Linked DNA regions of Homo sapiens: regions 1, 3 and 4 are each linked to region 2. Evidence: promoter capture Hi-C in 16 types of primary human blood cells and fetal thymus (Javierre and others, 2016). All regions are on one chromosome and are shown on one strand. The core of a region is centred on a gene start or on the middle of the fragment in contact, and the rest is flanking DNA. Distances in the headings are between cores, read along the strand shown.

Evidence for each region. Contacts are between HindIII fragments. The CHiCAGO score rates a contact against its expected background, and 5 or more counts as called.
Region 1: a contact is called between a fragment that was not itself captured here and the fragment with the promoter of MTF2 in region 2, in 8 of 17 cell types (naive CD8 T cells, total CD8 T cells, naive B cells and 5 more). The highest score is 7.4, in naive CD8 T cells.
Region 3: a fragment that was not itself captured here is called in contact with the fragment with the promoter of MTF2 in region 2 in 4 of 17 cell types (naive CD4 T cells, megakaryocytes, naive B cells and 1 more); the score reaches 7.1 in naive CD4 T cells.
Region 4: a contact is called between a fragment that was not itself captured here and the fragment with the promoter of MTF2 in region 2, in 1 of 17 cell types (megakaryocytes). The highest score is 6.5, in megakaryocytes.

What each region holds. Positions count from the first base shown.
Region 1 is chr1:93,838,468-93,843,135 of GRCh38, reverse strand. It overlaps a transcript of BCAR3 not described here. Among named protein-coding and RNA genes, the nearest start is that of MIR760, 6.0 kb to the left of the region's middle. RefSeq lists a silencer at 3,556-3,756. The HindIII fragment of the contact is 1,011 bases long and covers 2,666-3,676 here.
Region 2 is chr1:93,075,896-93,081,098 of GRCh38, reverse strand. MTF2 (metal response element binding transcription factor 2) reads right to left here and starts at 1,816. Exons shown (of 15, transcript NM_007358.4): 1 at 1,568-1,816. The coding sequence starts at 1,572. RefSeq lists enhancers at 1,773-2,067, 2,004-2,253. The HindIII fragment of the contact is 3,598 bases long and covers 999-4,596 here.
Region 3 is chr1:93,621,578-93,626,677 of GRCh38, reverse strand. All of the region lies in intron 3 of BCAR3 (BCAR3 adaptor protein, NSP family member), which reads left to right. Among named protein-coding and RNA genes, the nearest start is that of BCAR3-AS1, 32 kb to the right of the region's middle. The HindIII fragment of the contact is 2,518 bases long and covers 818-3,335 here.
Region 4 is chr1:93,816,150-93,820,745 of GRCh38, reverse strand. It overlaps a transcript of BCAR3 not described here. Among named protein-coding and RNA genes, the nearest start is that of MIR760, 28 kb to the left of the region's middle. The HindIII fragment of the contact is 2,848 bases long and covers 1-2,775 here.

The sequences.
Region 1 (4,668 bases), core at 1,922-4,421, 760 kb before region 2:
TTATTTTCATTTGTCCCACCCACCACATGGTTTCCCAAGACAAGGGTACCATCCACCCTTAAGGACTTAAGAAGACTCATTTCTTGCTAGAAAAATCTACTCACAACGTTGAAATGAAGGCCTTTTTCATCCTAAAATCTACTCACAACATTGAAATGAAGGGCTTTTTCATCCTAAAATATCTCAGTGCTGAGTGTGATTACTGAGCCAGGCCAATAGCCAAACCACATTAGGTGGCCAGGCAGGAACAGGGGAAGGAAAAGAAAATTTTCCAGGATGAAGAAAAACATAACGTCAAGACAAAAATGAGGGTTGGATGGGTCCTTATGGAAGTACAGTTTGGGGTGATGGAAGATGTGTCAACAGACGAGGTTGGGAAGGTAGGATCCAGGCCAGATACGGCAAAAGGGGTAGGGGCAGACTTGATTCAAGATAAGGAATGTGGCAATGGGAAAGCATTTGGCATGAGAAAAGCTGTGTTTAGAGTGATTACTATAGGAGGGGATGTGCAGGCAGAATGGAGTGGGTCCAGAGGGTCAGGGAGACTACTGCATCCTATTTAATTTGTCTGATTTCTTCATCTTTTCAGAAAACCGTCTGAGGGTCCAGTAGTGACCTTGGGGCATACAGAGATGAAAAACACATGTGCTTGGCTTACAAGCCTTATAGAAAGGATGATAGTCCAGGCGTGGTAGGTAGCTCATGGCTGTAATCCTAGCACTTGGGGAGGCTGAGGCGGGTGGATTGCCTGAGCTCAGGAGGTCGAGACCAGCCTGGCCAACATGGTGAAACCCTGTCTCTACTACAAATATAAAAATTACCCAGGTGTGGTGGCACATGCCTGTAATCCCAGCTACTCGGGAGGCTGAGACAGGAGGACTGCTTGAACCTGGGAGGCAGAGGTTGCAGTGAGCCAAGATCACAGTATTTGCACTCCAGCCTGGGCAACAGAACGAGACTCCATCTCTGGGGAAAAAAAAAAAAAAAGGATGACAGGTACACAAACAGCTGTGATGTAAAATAAAAAGGTCTTTAAGTGAGGTGCAGGTGTGGTGATACGGGACTTCAGGGAAGAGAAAGATTACATTGTGAGAGGGAATTACACAGGGAGGCTGCATTTGAAATGGGCTATCTAACCTAGGACTGACTTGCGTACAAGGAATGCTGTGGCTAGGGCGCAGGGTAGAAACCAGACTCAGGAGTTATGAGGAAGAAGATAGGACAAGGCTGGGAAAATAATGGAGGCTGAGCAGTTCAGTGCACAGTGTTTAAAAGGGTGCCAAAAACTTGACCTTGGTTGCAGCAGGTGCTGGTAAAGAAGGTCACTGGGGTTCAGAGTACTGGTGACAAAGTCAGGCATGGTTCTGTGCCATCAGCCTGTTCAGAAGAGGACAAGAAACACAGCTAAGGATAAAGGGAACATGATCTGGTCCCGAAAGGGGAAGGCTTGGGAGGCTGATTGAAAGACTTAGACTGGTAGAGTGGTATTCAGAGAAGAAGTCTAGTCATGAAGGAAAACTGAGGCAGATGCAGGTATATCGTGTCTAAGGCAGGCAGCACCACCAATTCCAGATCTCATGGCTGGTTGCCTGGCTGACCAGGCTTCCAAGCCTAGTAGGGCTCAGGAAGGATGTAGGAGTATCTTGTAAGTGGCAGTTACCTGTCTCTGCTGTTGAGATGGCTAAACAAAGGCTGAGCCTTACTTGGGTCTTCAAGGCTGGTCAGGCTTGTCCCTGCACAAACAAAAGACCACATTCATTCATTTAAGCATTGAGACTAGCCAGGCTCTCCACAAGTCTCTTGGGACCCTTTGGTGAAGAAGACAAATGCTGTCCTTGCTGCCATGGACCTTGCAATCTTGAGCAAAGTCAGACAGCAGAGCATGAATGAGTATAGGAAATGGGCTTGACTTAAGAGATACAGCTGAGAAAGTCAGTGGGGCAAAGATCCGGAAGCGCTTCAAATGCAAGGCTAAGGAGCCTGGGGTTGAGCAGCCCCATGTCACCTCCTCCGAGAATTTTCCCAGACATTCTTCTGCAGCCTAGTCTGCTGGTGGTGGGGAGGGACTCCTGGATTCCCAAGGTACTTTCAAAGCTCTATAATTTTCTGTGTGGTTTTCTATCTCTTCTCCCAGACAATAAGCATCTTGGGGGAGTGGGAGGAAAGTGGGGGGAGCACGTCTTCTTTTCCTTTATCTTTGTAACCTCAGTCCCTAGCATTGTGGCTAGCTCACAACAAGTAGCTTTGAATATTGATTGAACAAATGAATGAGTCCTGTAGGCAATAAGGAAGCTACTTGACTATGTGCCTAGCTTATCTTCTGCATTAGACCAGAAGCTCTTGAAAGCTAAACATCCGTGCTTTCTAACTGTTTTGTAATTCTCCCCAAGGCTTGGCAGAATATCATGTACACAGTGGACACTCCATAAATGATGCCTGAATGCGTTTGTGGAAGTAGAAGTGGATCTTCAGTGTCCTAATTCCTGCTTTCAGTGACCCAGTTTGGGGGAGTAGGTCTTAAATTTCTTCCCCTCAGAATGACATCTCTGCCTTTTAAGTTCTCAACAAACTAGTAGGATGACTTCTTCTGGTAAGCATATTTGGAAGGAAAGGCATTCTGAGCCCCACTCGTGGGCCTCACAACAAATAACCATCTATTAAAGCTTAGTGAATCTTAATTGTTTAGCAGTTGAAAATAATAATGAAGTAATAACGCATCACACCAGGCACTTTTCTGGGTTCTTCATGTATATCAGACCTCACTTAATCTTCATAACAACCCTCTAAGGTAGGCAGGATCATTGCCCCATTCCCAGATGGGAAGGCAAACCACAGGGAAAGCAGCAGGATTGAATCCAGGCACCTGTCCCCAAGTTCACATATACCCTGGACTACAGCAGTTTCTCCTAGAAAAGAAATCAGGAGAGAATCAGCAAGCAACTGGGAGCAGACTTGTTAGACTAGCGGTCTTCAAACTCTACCACGCTCTAGAATCTTGATGCCCAGGATGCACCCTGAGGCCAGTTAAATCACAATTTCTGGGGATGGGACCCTGGCATCAGCATTTTTTTTAAACTCCCTAGGTGATTCTCATATGTAGCCAAATTTGAAAATAATGCCCTCTGCCCTTCCTGCAAAAATGCTGACCATGAACCAGGAGTATCAGCATGACCTGGGAGCAGATTAGAAATGCAGGCTCTCGGCCCCACCCTAGGCCTGCTGAATCAAATCTGTATTTTACTAAGATCCCCTCAGTGACTCATTTGCACTAAAGTTTAAAATGCACTGGTTTAGGGCTTAGGTATTCAAGCTCTCATTATTCCACTTGGGCTTCTGTTATTAGCATGAATTTAAATCCTTAATAAGCAAATCTCAAAACTCCATCAAAAAGCTCAGAATCAATCTGATATATTGGCCCAAAAAAATTACTTCAGAGGAAACTATGACCTTTTACTTCTCATTTTGTGAGGGAACTGAGGAAGAAAAGTTATATTGCTAATGGTGTCTAACAGAATGTAGATTCAGTCCAATCTAAAAGAGGCAGATGAATAACTCCTGGCTGCCTTCCTTCTTCTGAGTCAGAAGGATCAGGCCCACGACCTCAGTTAGGCAATGACCATACTTGAGTACCAAGCTGATTGATAAAGAAAATCCTCCAGCCAGAGGTATCTAAGCTTTCACAACTTCTGCTGTTTCCCCATGGTATGTTCCTGTTATAGACCCATAGATGAGATCAGCAATCCTTGTCCCAATTGAGATCTTGTTGTTTGTCATTCAGCTTTCTGAATCTAACTAGATACATTGCCCACTTTTTAGTTTAGTTTAGTTTTTTTCTTTTTATTTTCTTTTAGACTGAGTTTCACTCTTTTTGCCCAGGCTGGAGTGCAGTGCCACAATCTCGGCTCACTGCAACCTCCACGATTCAAGCGATTCTCCCACCTCAGCCTCCTGAGCAGCTGGGATTACAGGCACATGCCACCACGCCCAGCTAATTTTATATTTTTAGTAGAGATGGGGTTTCACCAGGCTGGTCTCAAACTCCTGAGCTCAGGTGATCCACCTGCCTCGGCCTCCCAAAGTGCTGGGATTACAGGCGTGAGCCACCACGCCTGGCACTTTTTAGTTTTTATTTGCCATTGCTTTGTTTATTTATAACTAAATAACTGAAATTTGGAACTAGACTCAGAATGTGTCCCAGTTCATCTGAAGGACATGGAGGTCCACTGGGATGCTCCTTATTTCACTATTTCACTATTTTTTGGTCTTTGCCCACTTTTTCCTTGAAATGATCCATTCTGTGCATTTTATTATATCTCAAGACATCAGGTAGATAGTCACAACCAGTAGCAAATACACCGGCTGAAATTGCCCTCCTTGCTTGGAATGTCTGCCCTTGAATGCAAATTATTTACTTCTGGATCCCTGACAGTGTAATTGTATAATAACTGCGTTTGTAGAATGGTAAGGTTAGCATCCCGTTTTTCTCAGATCTTCAGTAGCAGACTATAAATGACTAGAAAGGGGAGGGCTACTTAGTATCAAGTTTTTCAACACTAGTAATGGAGAGGTGCTATGGTTTGCATAGAGTTAGTTTGTCCCCACCAAAATGCATGTTGATATTTGATCCCCAGTGTGGCAGTGTTGGAGGTCAGACCTAGTGGGGGGTAT
Region 2 (5,203 bases), core at 567-3,066:
TAACATTATAAATGTAGTATCAGGAAGCAGGTGTGTTCTTAATTCAAATATTTAGAACATTTTTAGCACTTTAAAAAACTGCAGGTGAACTAATTTTAAAATGTGAATTCAAATACATTTTTATATTTAGGAATCTGAAAAAACAAGTCATTTTGTATTCCCTCTCAAGTTATAACTAAACTATAGGGCACTTAAAGCCATCAGTCAAAACAACTCCCTTTAAAGCATTTTCAAATCTTAAAAAGGTTATTGTGAATTTAATTACATTTTATCCACATTAACTACTTCTACATACAACTATCTTTGAAATTTACTGACAAAAAAAAAAAAAAAAGGAATTCCCAAGAGAGAATGAAACCATGGAAATTGAAACCAGCTTGTAGGCTAGGTATACAGGAGGGTCACATGGAATCCATCTGAAGGAGAAAGTAACTACTATTACTACCGGAGGTTCTGAAGTCAAATTAAATCAGGTACTATTTACATATTTCTAGCTCTGTACTGACCTCACATGGTGCCTTCCTATGTATTACACACAGGCCTAGCTAGGTTTTCACATTTAAGTTAGTGTTACATGGTTTCTATCTTTAACCAAAGTTAAATGTTTTAAAGAATAGAGTAACATTCCATAAGCCTTTTCCCATTGTTCACAAACCCTTGCTGTTAGTCAGATTACCCCGATAAATCCATCTGTTCCCTCTAATTGCTTCCAAAGAAAAATTCTAGCAACCAAGGACACCAGATTGTAAAACACAGAGTTAGAGTTCTGGCACTACCGAAATATGTTAAGAAATCTTGGCAAATTGGTTAAAATTCCTTGAGCCGTAATTACCTCAGTTGTAAAAATGAATACAATACAAATCTACATCCTAGACGTAGATTATATGAGTTAGGTTTAATTAAACACAAGAAAAGCCTCATATTTTTGGTGAGCTCCAAATATAAGCTACCTAGCTTTCCCCCATCTCACTTTCCCTCCCACCGCTTCCCTTTAAGCTTTCAGGTTGTGCTTCCAACCTCCACTTCAGTGTGTTCCCCTTATCCTTACCAGCACTTACACTCGACCCCCTTTACTCCAATTCCATACAATTCCACCCTCCGATTCCAAGCTGCTACTTCCCTTTGCGCACTGCTAAGGTCCCAGGCAGCCCTCCACTCTGCTCCCCACATTTCCCTCAGCCCCCATTTCCCAACGGCTCCTCCTCTCGGCTCCCCACCCCCTCGTCACCAGGTTCATCCTGCCCCTCCAACCGTCTCCCGCCCCCAGGTTCCTTCCTGCCCTCCAAACACAGCTTCCCCGTCTCAACGTTTCATCTTGTTCCTCCAACAGACTCCCCCAACGACCTCCTCGCTCCTTTAGTCCCTATTTTCTCCCAACACTCAACTGACTACTCCTCTTCATCCATTCTTTTCAATATACACATAAATGCAAAGGCACCCACATACAGGAGCCCCCACCCCCACCTTGGTCCTCCATCTTTCCCTTTTATACTTGCTTCCTTTCTTCCTCCTTCCCCCAACCCCCATCTCCTCCGGAAGAGTCGGTTCCCAGGCCAAGGTCTCTCACCTCATTCGGTCACTTCAGTGGTGCCAACCGCTTCATACAGGAAAAAACAACCAATCCGTCCCCGTGGGCGCTTCCCCTGCGAGTCCGAGCACTTACTGGGCACCCGCCCCACCGGGTACCCGGCACATATGCACGCACAAACCGAGGTCCTTGGAGACAAGGGTTGGGGGTAGAATGAGCGTTCTTACACCGGCCTCAAACACAGCCCACTTCAATACAGCCCCTCGCCATTTTGGTTTCCCGCGGACTGCCGGTGCATTCTGGGAGCGCGGAGCGACTCCGGTGCCGAATGGCAGCTCTCCAAAGCCGCGGGGGGGCAGGGACTGCGCGGCGAGCGCGGAGGAACACCGCGCCCTGCGTCCCCGACTGGGGCTGAACAAAGAAGGACTCTTTAACGTTGCAGTGAGGCTCAGTCCTTCCGCCGCCGGGGCTAACACAATAGTGAAAGCTGCGCTCCTGATCGTCGGCAGGCTGGCACTGTTATACAGGAAAAGGGTCGTGTGCGACCTTCGGTGTGCGTGGTCGTAACGGTGCTCTGTGCATCTTGCTGGGCCGATTTCTTTTCCCTGGAGAAAACCTTAACTGAAGCACGTTTCCTCTACTTTCATCCTAAGGCCTGCTGTTAGAATTTCCTTCAGAGGGGAGAAGACCCAGGATGTCGAGATTAAATTTTATTCAGCGATTCACTGTCCAGTCCCAAACTCCTTATCAGGAGCTGCTTTTATGAAAGACTTTCAGACGATTTTTTTCCTAACGATGAAAGGTTGTTTTCTGTTTACCCGCTTTGCAGTCCTTCCTAGTTGTAATGAAATCTGAGAATAGTCCCCTGCAAAATGGTTTAAGAAAACAGAATTGTTTATTAGTGCAGACCCTTAGCCTGCCCAGATTCTGCTGCCTACAGGGGTCCCAACTGACAAGCTGTGAGATTGTATGCTTGTCTCTTTAACTTACACCTAGATACAACCCAGCTCCTCTTAGTAGCCACGTGTGGAATCTTTATTTATAATTTCGTCAAAATATTTTTAAAGCCATTTTATATTTTTGTCCCATATTATGCCACAGGGATAGTGAACACCATATTTTTTCTGTCTCTGAAAAAGTACCTTTTGTGGTCTAAGCTCATTTGGCTCATACTTCAAAAGGGGTTCCCTCAGCCTGTGATCTCAGAATTTGGCAAATAAGCATATTCGTTTTATCCAATACCATTCAATACTTTAAATATTGTGGTCATACCCTTCCACTCCTCTGCTTCTCCTGAATAATAGTCCTAATCTTTTAAGTCTGTCTTCTTACTGTACCCTCACTGTATCTACTTACCTACTACCTTTCAGGTTTCACTTTATTTCAATTCTCATCATCGTCTCTCATAAATTCGTCTTAAGTGACCTTCATACGTTGGCTGAGGAAAATTTTGACTTAAAAAAAGCAGATGCAGCCGGGCGCGGTGGCTCACACCTGTAATTCCAGCACTTTGGGAGGCCGAGACAGGCAGATCACCTGAGGTCGGGAATTCGAGACCAACCTGATCAACTTGGAGAAACCCCGTCTCTACTAAAAATACAAAAATTAGCCAGGTGTGGTGGCACATGCCTGTAATCCCAGCTACTCGGGAGGCTGAGACAGGAGAATCGCTTGAACCCAGGAGGCAGAGGTTGTGGTGAGCCAAGATCGTGCCATTGCACTCCAGCCTAGGCAACAAGAGCAAAAACTCCATCTCAAAAAAAAAAAAAAAAAAGTAGATGCATTCCCATTCAGGAACGTGGCATTAAGGTAAATAAATAAATAAAATATTAAAAAGTAGATGCAGTACAAAAATTAATAAAGATATTGCACAAACAGATATATTTGCTGTGCAGCTAAGCCTAATCAGAGAACATCTGTTTTGGAGAACGTTTGGTCTAAGTTTTCCTCAACATTTCTGTAAAGTGGTCACCAAGCCTCAACTTCAAAATCTTCAGTGATTCAATACTTCAGACGCATTCATTTCCACCTCAGAAACTCTAATAATTTAGGCTCTTTGGCTACACAAAAGTATTCTAATCCCTTATACATTAGAGAAGTAAATTATGCCTCTATCAAAAAAAAGTGTTATTTTTCTGTGCAAACGTGTGAGTACAAAGGTGTAAGCAAACCAAGTGTTCAGAGATTTAAGGACACTCAGGGAGTCACAGTCAAGTATAAAGAATACCTGTCAGCCAGCCACCAGCAACTCACTCCTGTAATCCCAGTACTTTGAAAGGCCAAGGTAGAAGGATCACTTGAGCTGGGGAGTTCCAGACCAGTATGCAGTCTGAGCCACATAGTGAGACCCTGTCTCTACAAAAAATTTAAAAATTAGCTGGGCCCCTGCCTGTAGTCCCAGCTATTCAGGAGGCTGAGGTGGTAGGCTTACTTGAGCCACAGTGAGACTGCCTCAAAAAAAAAAAAAAAAAAAAAAAAAACCTGCTGTAGTTGTGGTTCCTCGGAAATATAGAGTGAACTCTGATCAGAGTAAACTGTACCCTTTATTGTTGTATGTATTTCTGTGATCATCCTTAGGGTGGTTCATAAGTATTCTGGTTCCCCTCTCTTCCAGACACATAGTAAAATTGCACTCTGGCCGGGCGCGGTGGCCACGCCTGTAATCCCAGCACTTTGGGAGGCTGAGGGGGGCAGATCACTTTAGGCCAGGAATTCCAGACTAGCGTGGCCAACATGGCAAAACTCTGTCTCTACTAAAAATACAAAAATTAGCCGGGCGTGGTGGTGCATGCCTGTAATCCCAGCTATTTGGGAGGCTGAGGCAGAGAATCACTTGAACCCAGGAGGCCGAGATTGCAGTGAGCCAAGATTGCACCGCTGCACTCCAGCCTAGGCGACAGAGGGAGACTCTGTCTCGAAGAAAAAAGAAAAAAAAATTTGCACTTTCTTGCACCCCTGAAGTTAATTGCTTTGACCAATAAAATGGGTGACATGTATCACTTCTCAGGAGAATCTTTAAGAAGCAGAGACACATCTCCCTCCCCCATGCTATGGTAATCATGGAAGCTTGGGTTGAGATAGAATGTCTGTCGCTTTCAGTTCCTAAATGTCTACAATAAGCAGTGACTAGAATTGTGCAATCATCACCACAATCCACGTTTAAAACATTTCCATCACCCCCAAAAAATTCATTATGCGCATTTGCAGTCAACCCTCCTTCCAAGCCCTAGGCAATCTGCTATCTGCTTTCTGACAATTTCATATAAATGGTTTCATACAATAAGTAGTCTTTTGCATCTGGGTTCTTTCACTCAGAATATTTTTTAGGTTCATCTACGTTGTACCAGTCAGTAGTTATTTCTTTTTATTGCCAAATAGACTCCATTTGAATGAATGTACTACATTTTGTTTATCCATTCGCCAGTTGAAGGACATTTATGTTGTTTTCAATCTGGGGCTATTATAAATAAGACTGCTATGAACATTTGTGTACAAATCTTTGTATGGACATTCGTTTTTTATTTTTCTTGAGTAGATCCCTAGAAGTGGAATTACAGAGTTGTATGATAAGTTTATGTTTAACATTTTAAGATACTGCCAAACTGTTTTCCAAAGTGTAAGCAATATGTAAGCCTTCCAGTTTCCCAATATCCTCACTGATACTTGTCTATCTTT
Region 3 (5,100 bases), core at 827-3,326, 550 kb before region 2:
TTCAATTCTTTGAGCCAATGGGAGTCAAGAGTGCAATGGCCCCTGGTAGAGTTTGGTGCCTCTGCCTTGCTTTGTGCTGAGGCACCAGGAATTAACCCATCATAGCTTTTGCACCACCAGTATAAATGTCAACCCAGTGAAACAGGCAAAAAATGTCTCTGTATTATTATGAAAATAAGTTTTGACCTCTCAGACCCCCAGAAGACCCCCCAGCCTGCAGATCAGCCTGTGGAACACACTTTGAGCACCACTGTACCAGAGGGTCTTTTGCTACTTAAGAGACTAAAAGCTGCAAAAACACTTAAAACACAAATAATCCCCTCTTGTTTATCTAAATCCATATTTATTTCTCTAGCAAAGTTTACTTTTAAGCTCAGCTTGCCCAACAGTTGCATTTACATTTAAAGAGACTTGTTTTTAATGTAGGAAAGACATTAAATTTTCATTTAAAAGTAAGGAAAAAATTGAGAGTCAATCCTTGAAGTAAGGGTTCTCAATTGTGGGCCTGTTCCTTGCAGTGGAGTGGATTGTGACACCTCTGGAAATGCTAACTCTATGTAACATAACCAAGTCATGATATACTGTAAAGATCTGGTTGCTCATCATATACTATAAAGTGCTAGGCCAGAAGCAATTGTAACTCTCCTCTCATTGCTTTATATTAAAACTCTGAAAACCCCAAGCTTGGTGAGGCCAAGGCTGGGTTATGGCAAGGTGCTCTGCCTGAGTATGCAAGTGTAGTCGAGGGAGAAATTTGTTGCAGGGATCCATTTACTTGGGACAGGCTGGAAGTGCGCATTCTCCTGATCCTTAAGCTTTTATTAATTGCTGCAGCCTTGGCTCCTTCTATGCTCCCAGTGTGGATTTGCTGGCTGAGCTCCATCCATCCTTTATGTGAATGAAGATAAGGATGTGTCAGACCCTGGGAATGAGAACATGCTGTTTGGCCCTTCAAGGCAATTTCCTTTCGAGTCCCAGCCCTCTCCAGATGGCATCTAATTGTTTCTTGAATGACCTCAGTGTCCAGGCTGCAGGAACCTGGTCTGAGAAGCCATTTCACATATTTATTAGCCTGTGGATGAGAACTTACTATATAAAGCCCCCATTCACATTCTCAAAAGAGCTTTTTGTACAGAAGAAATAAGGAAACTGATGGACTGTTTCCTGTGACCACCAGTCTTCAGCCGGATTCTTATTTTTACCAGGCCCAGGTGGGTGTATTTTGAAGGGGTCTGTGTGGTCCAGCTGAATCCATCCTGGTTCAGTGCCCTCCTGTCTGTCTCCTCATGGTCTCTACATGAAAGCCTTGACAGAATAGAGTCAAGTCCCCTTACCTCCTGGTTTCAGGATTACTTGAACAGAGTACAGGTAGTGTGAGTTGGGAATTACTGCATTCTGGAAGCCTCTCCCAGTTTGGAATCCCAGCTAGTTCAAAGTTTGAGAGAGTAAAATGACTCTTTTATTTTTGAGATGGAGTCTTGCTCTGTCACCCAGGCTGGAGTGCAGTGGTGCAATCTTGGCTCATTGCAAGCTCTGCCTCCTGGGTTCACGCCATTCTCCTGCCTCAGCCTCCCGAGTAGCTGGGACTACAGGCCCCCGCCACCATGCCTGGCTAATTTTTTTGTATTTTTAGTAGAGGTGGGGTTTCACCATGTTAGTGAGGATGGTCTTGATCTCCTGACCTCGTGATCCGCCCTCCTCGGCCTCCCAAAGTGCTGGGATTACAGGCATGAGCCACCGCGCCTGGCCGTAAAATGACTCTTAGGGCCAAAGTGGGAAGCAGCCGTAATTCAGCCAGAGGCTGGCAAGGCTGGCTTACCCGGTGAGGAGCATGACTTCTGTGTGGCCTGTCATCCCTCACGCCTCTGCAGTTCTGAACTATTTTTGGAGAGACAGGGAAGGGCCCCTACCTTCTTGCAAATACCATGAACAAGAGCCACGTCTCTAGAAATATGCATGCACACTTACTGCACATCTTAGTTCCAGGTGTTTGTGGACCCCAGGTTGAGAATCCCTGAGCTATCTCCAAATGTTCAGTGGGCCCCTATCATGTTCAGGCATTCCAATGATGACAATAAGACATGGGTCATGAGGCCAACAGACAAGGGCACCAGTCATTTTAATGAGTGCTTCAGTAGCTGAACCCTGGAGGACAGGGTTGGAGCTAGGGCTTCTTAAGGGGAGAAGGAAACCCCTACGGGCCCACACAGACTGAGAGCAGGGGCTCCCAAACTTCCAGGCCATGTCCACCTAAGGACTGTCTAAGGAGCACATTTGGGAAGATTTGAATGTGATTTGGAGATGATGTAAACGTCCTGTCCTTTGACCTGGAAAGAAGTCATGAGGGTTGCCCTCGCAGGTGACTGTACCGGGAAAAGCTCACCTGGCCTCAATAAGGGGATGTCTCAGCCAGTACCTCTAAATTGGGTCCTGTGGCCTTCCACATAGCAGAAAAGCCTTTTGGAAACATCCTCCAGGAGCTGAGGATGGTGCTGATGCCACATAAGCAGGGCTGAGAATGCAGTTTGTTTGTGCTTTCCCCTGGCTGGGAGGTGCTGGGTGTGGGAGCAGAACTCACCCCTACACCAGTGGCACAGTACATTCCAACAACATGAATCCCTCTCCCTCTTCCTAGAGGCAAATTCGTGTATTGTTATCCTTGAAAACTCAAGGCAACTCAATTATTTCCATGGAAGTCCCTGGAATAGACTGCAAAACACCATTAATTTCCATTCATTGCTGACACATGAGTGTACAACCCTATTATTAATGGGTGTATAATATGCATGTTTTCATGTAACATCAGTTCATGTTGGCTCCTTGTAGCATTTCTCAGATACAGAGATCACATTTTATACACATAATCTCCAACAGAGCCAGACACAGTATGTTACATCTCCATCTCAAGTTTTAATCTTACACTGATAAGGTGAGCCTGTAAACCCAAATTGATGGTGTGAGCTAGGAAACTTACCTCTGGGAAGGGCAGGGGTGGAGTGGCCTGGGTTGATGACTACTTCTGGGAAGGAAAACATTTTTAGGACCTTAGTCTCTTGCATCTGCCTCTCTCAGCACTTTGACCACATTCTCTTCCATCAGCTTCTTTATGCAGTGAGGGCCTGGCTGTGGGCTGCTCTAGGCTTATATTCTTAAGGCTTGTGGTCCAAGGGGAAAAGGGGATGTCTCTCTCAGCCCTAGTTTGAAAAGTCTCAGGGAAGGACTCTGTTTGGTCTCATGTCATTCACCTGCTTACTCTTGGACCATTCAGTGTTCAGTATTCTGATTGGCTCACACATCCATTAAAAGGATGAATACACATGCTACTCAGTAAAGCTTTTAAATATAATAGCCACCACCTGCTATCTATACCATTCCCCCCCTTACATTTTTAGGATCAGAAGTATATTCTGCTATATTTCTATTATCTCTATTCAGGATACATATATAAAATGTTGAGACATGAATGCTAAGTTTTGCGAAAAAAAAGAAAATCTTTTCAAGTCCTATTCCCATCTTTCCCTAGTTTATCTCCCTCCTGGTTTATGTACTGGATACCCATTGCCTCCAAGTTTGCCAGATTTGCTACTGTTACAGAGAAGTTATGGGCAGGGGGTGGGGATGTCCAGAGGGGCTGTGGATCCCCAGCCCATCTATAGCTTGTCCTTGGATGGATTCCCACATCTTATCACAAGTGACCCAACCGGGAGTCCTGGTGTTCCTGGATAGTTACCCAGATGGGTTTCTGCTGCTCTCCCTAGTAATTCTCCCTTCCTCCACCCAGCCCTTCCACCCATTTGGATATACACTGCAAGGCGTACCCAAATCTTTGAGCCACTGGCAAAGGAATTTATTGTCCCCACCTTGGCACCAGGAAGGGCAAATATTGACCTTCTGGATGTCACTCCTGCAGACAGCATTATGCTTGGCAGTTGACTACGTTAGGAAGTGAAGAAACTGGCCGGCAGTCAATGAGGTCCTTCCATGCACAGAACCCTCTGAATTGGCCTCTTCCTATAGAGGAAGGGGTACTGTTTGTGTTTCCATGTGACAAAAGCGGTCCCTTAGCCCTTCTTGTGCAGCAAGCCTTTGTTGCCTCCTGGTTCTTCTCAGATTCTGATGTCAGCATCCATCTCTCCCAGCCCTGCACTTTCCTTTCAGCTGTGAGCGGAATAGGACCTCTGATGGACTATTGCAGATGAGATCTGCTGCCTGTGTTGCCAAGAGTATCTGTCCCTCTGTTGGAGGGAGGTCTGCCTTTCAGATTTGCATAAGATAAAGCACTTCTGGTGACCAGGTGTTCTCCGTGCTTCCCTCATCACACCAGATAGAGCCAGCCATTCTGATTCGTTGTTGTTTTAATCATTAACTTTAAGAGCTGTTTGATCCCACATGTGAAATGGAGATAATAATACTCCTCTCCTAGTGTGACTATGAAATAGGACACCATGGTAAAAGTTCTCTGTAGAAGTGCTGGCTCCTGGCCTGGCATGGTGGCTCACGCCTGTAATCCCAGCACTTTGGGAGGCCTAGGAGGGTGAGTCACAAGGTCAGGAATTCAAGGCCAGCCTGGCCAATATGATGAAACTGTGTCTCTACTAAAAATACAAAAATTAGCCCATCTCTACTAAAAATACAAAAATTAGCCAGGCATGGTGGCGGGTGCCTGTAGTCCCAGCTACTCGGGAGGCTGAGGCAGGAGAATCACTTGAACCCGGGAGGCGGAGGTTGCAGTGAGCTGAGATTGCGCCACTGCCCTCCAGCCTGGGCGACAGAGTGAGACTCCATCTCAAAACAAAAACAAAAACAAAAACAAAACCAATGTGGCTTCTGGGGACCTTTCACATGGGGTGAGTGAGGTGAAACGATATCTGTGACGGCTGCAGGCTTCTTCAAGGCATCTCTGAAGTCTGTGGTGAGGAGGGGTTGTTGAGAGTCAAACTTGTAGCTCTTCCAATTTTCTGTCCTAAGTATTACATGCAAACAAGGTCCATCCACCCACTGAGTGAAGGGGTTCCCGTGCTGGTTAAAGCTGCTCCAGCGGCCATAAGAAACTGCAATACTACTTGCCTCAAGGCTATCTATCCCCTCCTCTTACCAGCC
Region 4 (4,596 bases), core at 102-2,601, 740 kb before region 2:
ATCACCAATGCCCCCTGATTTAATCAATCATGCCTATGTAACGGAACCTCCACAAAAACCCTAAACAACGTTATTCAGAGAGCTTCCAGGTTGGTGAACACATCCACATGTCAGGAAGGCAAATGCCCAGAGAGTGTGGAAGCATCTCACCTCCTCCCACATACCTTGCCCTATGCATCTCTTTCATTGGCTGCTCCTAGAGTTTTATTCTCCATAATAAACTAATCAGAGTAAGCAAAGTGTTTCACTGAGTTATGAGAAGCATTATAGCAAATTTTTGAACCTGAGGAGGGAATTTGGGGAACCCCCAATTTATAGCTGGTCAGTCAGGAATACAGGAGACCTGAGACTTGTGATTGGCATCTGAAGTGGGGGTCAGTTTTATGGGGCTGATCCCTTAACCTGTAGGGTTTGTGCTAATTCCAGGTAGTTAGTATCAGAATTGAGTTAAATGGTAAGATCCTAATTGGTGTCTGCAGAGAACTAAAGAAGTACAAGTACTTAGTTTGGAAAACCTACACATTTTGGTGTCAGAAGTATTAAGAGCATCGAAAACTAGTTTTTCTTTTGGTATTCTTACCAATTTCCACAGAAATTGAGGTCCTGATGGACTCTGGATACTTGAGTAGCATCTTTAACTGTGTTTGTGTGAGTGAGTTCTGAGTTTAGAGTTTACTGTTAAATAAATCTGGCTCCTAAGCAAATTAATGCAGGAACAGAAAACCAAATACCACATGTTCTCATTTATAAATGGAGCTAAACATTGAGTACACATGGACACAAAGGAGGGAACAACAGACCCTGGGACCTACTTGAGGGTGGAGGATAGGAGGAGGGTGAGAATCAGAAAACTGTCTATCAGGTATGATGCCCATTACCTGGGTGATGAAATAATCTGTACACCAAACCCCCATGACACACAATTTACCCATGTAACAAACCTGCATTTGTACCCCTGAACCTAAAATAAAAGTTGGAAAGAAAAATAAATAAATAAATAACTGGAAATATATAAATAAATCTGGCAAAGTTATAGTGTTTGTGGTAGGTGAAAAGATACTCGCACCCAGCAGCGTCTGCCTGAATTTTCTCTGTAAGTTGCAAAGGTCCAATATTTAATACAGGTCACATTTTAGGATTAGAATTTTAATCCACTTTCAAGTAGTAAGTTTGTTCCTCAAAAAATAAAAAATAAAAATAAAAGATCCAGAAGAGAGCTAAGAGTAGGAAGCAACCTACCTTTGTATCTTTTGCTAAAGCGCATGTATTTTGGTAGTTAAAAGCAAAAGCAAGTGGGCTTGGTAACCAGTGGGAGGAGTGGCCAGGGAAGGTGCTCCCGAAGTATCAATTGGTTAGCAAAGTCAGTTTAAAATGGGCGACCCGGCTGGGCGTGGGGGTTCACACCTGTAATCCCAGCACTTCGGGAGGCCGAGGTGGGTGGATCACGAGGTCAGGAGATTGAGACCATCCTGGCCAACGTGGTGAAACCCCGTCTCTACTAAAAATACAAAAATAACTGGGTGTGGCAGCACACGCCTGTAATCCCAGCTACTTGGGAGCCTGAGGCGGGAGAATGGCTTGAACCGGGGAGGCGGAGATTGCAGTGAGCCGAGATTACACCACTGCACTCTAGCCCGGCAACAGAGTGAGACTCCATCTCAGAAAAAAAAAAAAAGGACAACCCACAGAGTATACAATTATAACAACATGTGGATCATTGCTTCTATCTCAACATTATTATAACAAACATTTGATACTTTTCTATTTACAAAAATATCATATATACATTGCTGATACCTAATATCTAACAATTCTTCAGCACTTAACTATGTACCAAGCAGTGTTTTAGGTGCTTACACTCATTTGCTCATTTAATCATTACTGACCCATGGGGCTGTATTCCAGTGCCTCCTTAGCCTGCTCTTTAAAACCATTCATCACCCACCCACTTACTCTCCTACACAGCACTTACCACTCTCTGACACACTATGTTTACTTCATTACCTGTCTGTGTCTCTCCACTAGAATGTGAGCTCCCTGTTGGTGAGAATTTGCTTTATACCCAGCACCTAGAATAATGCCTGACATATAATGAAACAAATGCCTGGTCCTCAGTAAATACTTGATTAATGATGGAAAGTACTGTTACCTCCCATTTTACAGGTGAGGAAACAGGCTCTGAGTGGTTAAGTAGCTTGCTCAGATCACAGCTAGGAAGTGGCAGAACTGGGATACAAACCCAGACACTTCCGCTCTGGAGACACCCACAACCACGACAGTAGGCAGCCCAGGTACACAGCACTGAGTCAGACCAGTCCTGAGGTGGGGACTTGCGTGGTAGGCATAGACCAAGGTATTTAGCCTGCAGGCAGAAGAGGAAGGCCCTGAGAAGGAGGCGGTAGACATTGAAGATTAACGTCAGCTGTGTGGCACTTGTGCTTTAGTGTGATCCTGGCTAACAGTGCTGATATCAGTCTCTCATGAGTGTAATCACACAGAAACCAACAGATATTTCTGAACTCCTTGTGTGTGTAAAGCACTGATGTACGTGTTAAGAAAACTGTCACAAAGTACAAAAGGAGACACTTGGCACTCAAAGAGCTTATAATCTAATTGTGGGAAGCACTAGCACATGAAAAATAACATAGCAAAGTCAGCAGTATTAAGAGTACCATAAAGTGGCACGTGGTTAACACTCAAACCAGGGGCCCTGGGAACCAGTGCGTCACCGGTAAGGAGGGAGCAGTCACTAAAGTCTCAGTAGGCTGGGAAGCTTCGTGTGGTGTGGGGCGGCGGGGAGCAAAGCTTCCTTGGGACTGGCAGAGCCAAGAGGGCTGAGGAGGTCTAGGGGAAGGTGAACTGGGAGGGTGGGAAAGCAGGGAGGAGGAGAGCCCCTTGGCAAAAAGTGCTGTGGGGCAAAATACTGCAAAGATGCTGGGCAGGGATGTGGGGGGGTAAACAGGGCTAGTCAGCTGTAGCCCATCAAAGCCAGGATGGAGAATGTCATATGTAGTTTGTGCATGGATGTCACCTTGAGCTGGGAAGCAACTCAGAGACTTACAGGGAAGGAGAATAGAAAAGGAGTAAGATTGGGAATGCTGCCAGAGATGACATGGAGAAGCACAGGGAAGGCCAGAGAACCAAATGGCTAAGGGCACAGGCTTTAGAGCCAGCCTAACTTCCACCTCTACCTCTGCCACTTCTGAACTGTATGAAAGGTCACGACACTCAACTTTCAGAGACTCATTTCCTCATCTGTAAATGAGAGAAAAAGAAAAAAGTTGTCTCATGGAATGTCTGTGAGGTTAATACAGTGAGATAATATAACATGTAAAATACTTAGCACAGTGCTCAATAAATGGTAGCTTTCAAAAACCATGGAAGTGACCCACTGGGAATGCTGGGCTCTCAGCCCCAAAAACCAGAGAGCAATGCCAGACCATGGTGCCTGCTGCCCCCCGCACTGGGGGTGACCCCCTTCAGCCCCTGCTTTGATGCCCAGTGGCCCATTTCTTCCCTCATACTTAAAAGTGCCTGCTCACATATAAGGCTAAATCAAACTCCTGCAGAAACATGACAGGAAGCTGAAAAGATAACATAAAGCAGAAGCAGGGATTCCTGTTACCAGAACAGTGTTGGTTGAACAGGATGTGGGGGGATCAGGGAAACAGATGGCTGAGAAGCAGATATTGCGGAACCATCCAGGAAGTTATTGCCCTCCCAAGCTCAGGACAGAGGCTAGTTCTATTATTATGACTTTTTTTTTTGAGGGGGTGGTGGTTTAATGTACTGATTGCTTGCCTGCCCCTGAAGGCAGTTTTAGGACTTCAGCAAAATACAAGTTAGCACCTGTTTTTGTAAGTATAGCTAAGATAGTTTTAGTTTGGGGGGTTTTGTTTTGTTCTATCTTCATTTTTTGTTGCATTCCTGAATATCTTGTTCCTAGCTATGGTGGTTGTTTTGACATTGTCAATCAAGAATTCAGTGGGCAATAGCTTAAATGCCTTCAGTATTACCATCTATTGCTTGTTTAAACAGAGTTTTAATTTCTTTTTTTTTTTTTTTTTTTTTTTTTGAGATGGAGTCTAGCTCTGTCGCCGAGGCTAGAATGCAGTGGTGCAACCTTGGCTCACTGCAACCTCCGCCTCCTGGGTTCAAGCGATTCTCCTGCCTCAGCCTCTTGAGTAACTGGGATTACAGGCGCCCACCACCACACACAGCTAATTTTTGTATTTTTAGTAGAGATGGGGTTTCACTGTGTTGGCCAGGCTAGTCTCGAACTCCTGACCTCGTGATCTGCCTGCCTCAACCTCCCAAAGTGCTGGGATTCAAGCGTGAGCCACTGCGCCCAGCCCAGAGTTTTAATTTCTAAAGGATTTTGTGAATTATTCACCAATGAAAGCAAAGCTATAAATTGCAGCATAATTTCAAAATATTGCTTGGGGGATATGATCATGAGAAAACATAAAACTCTATTCTCCTGTCAATTCCTGAGCAAAAATTATCCTACAGTGATAGAATAAACTAGTCACAGTGGGCTTTCTGTGCAGCTAATTTATTTTATGTGCCTACTGTGTGCCAGGTATAGCACTAGAT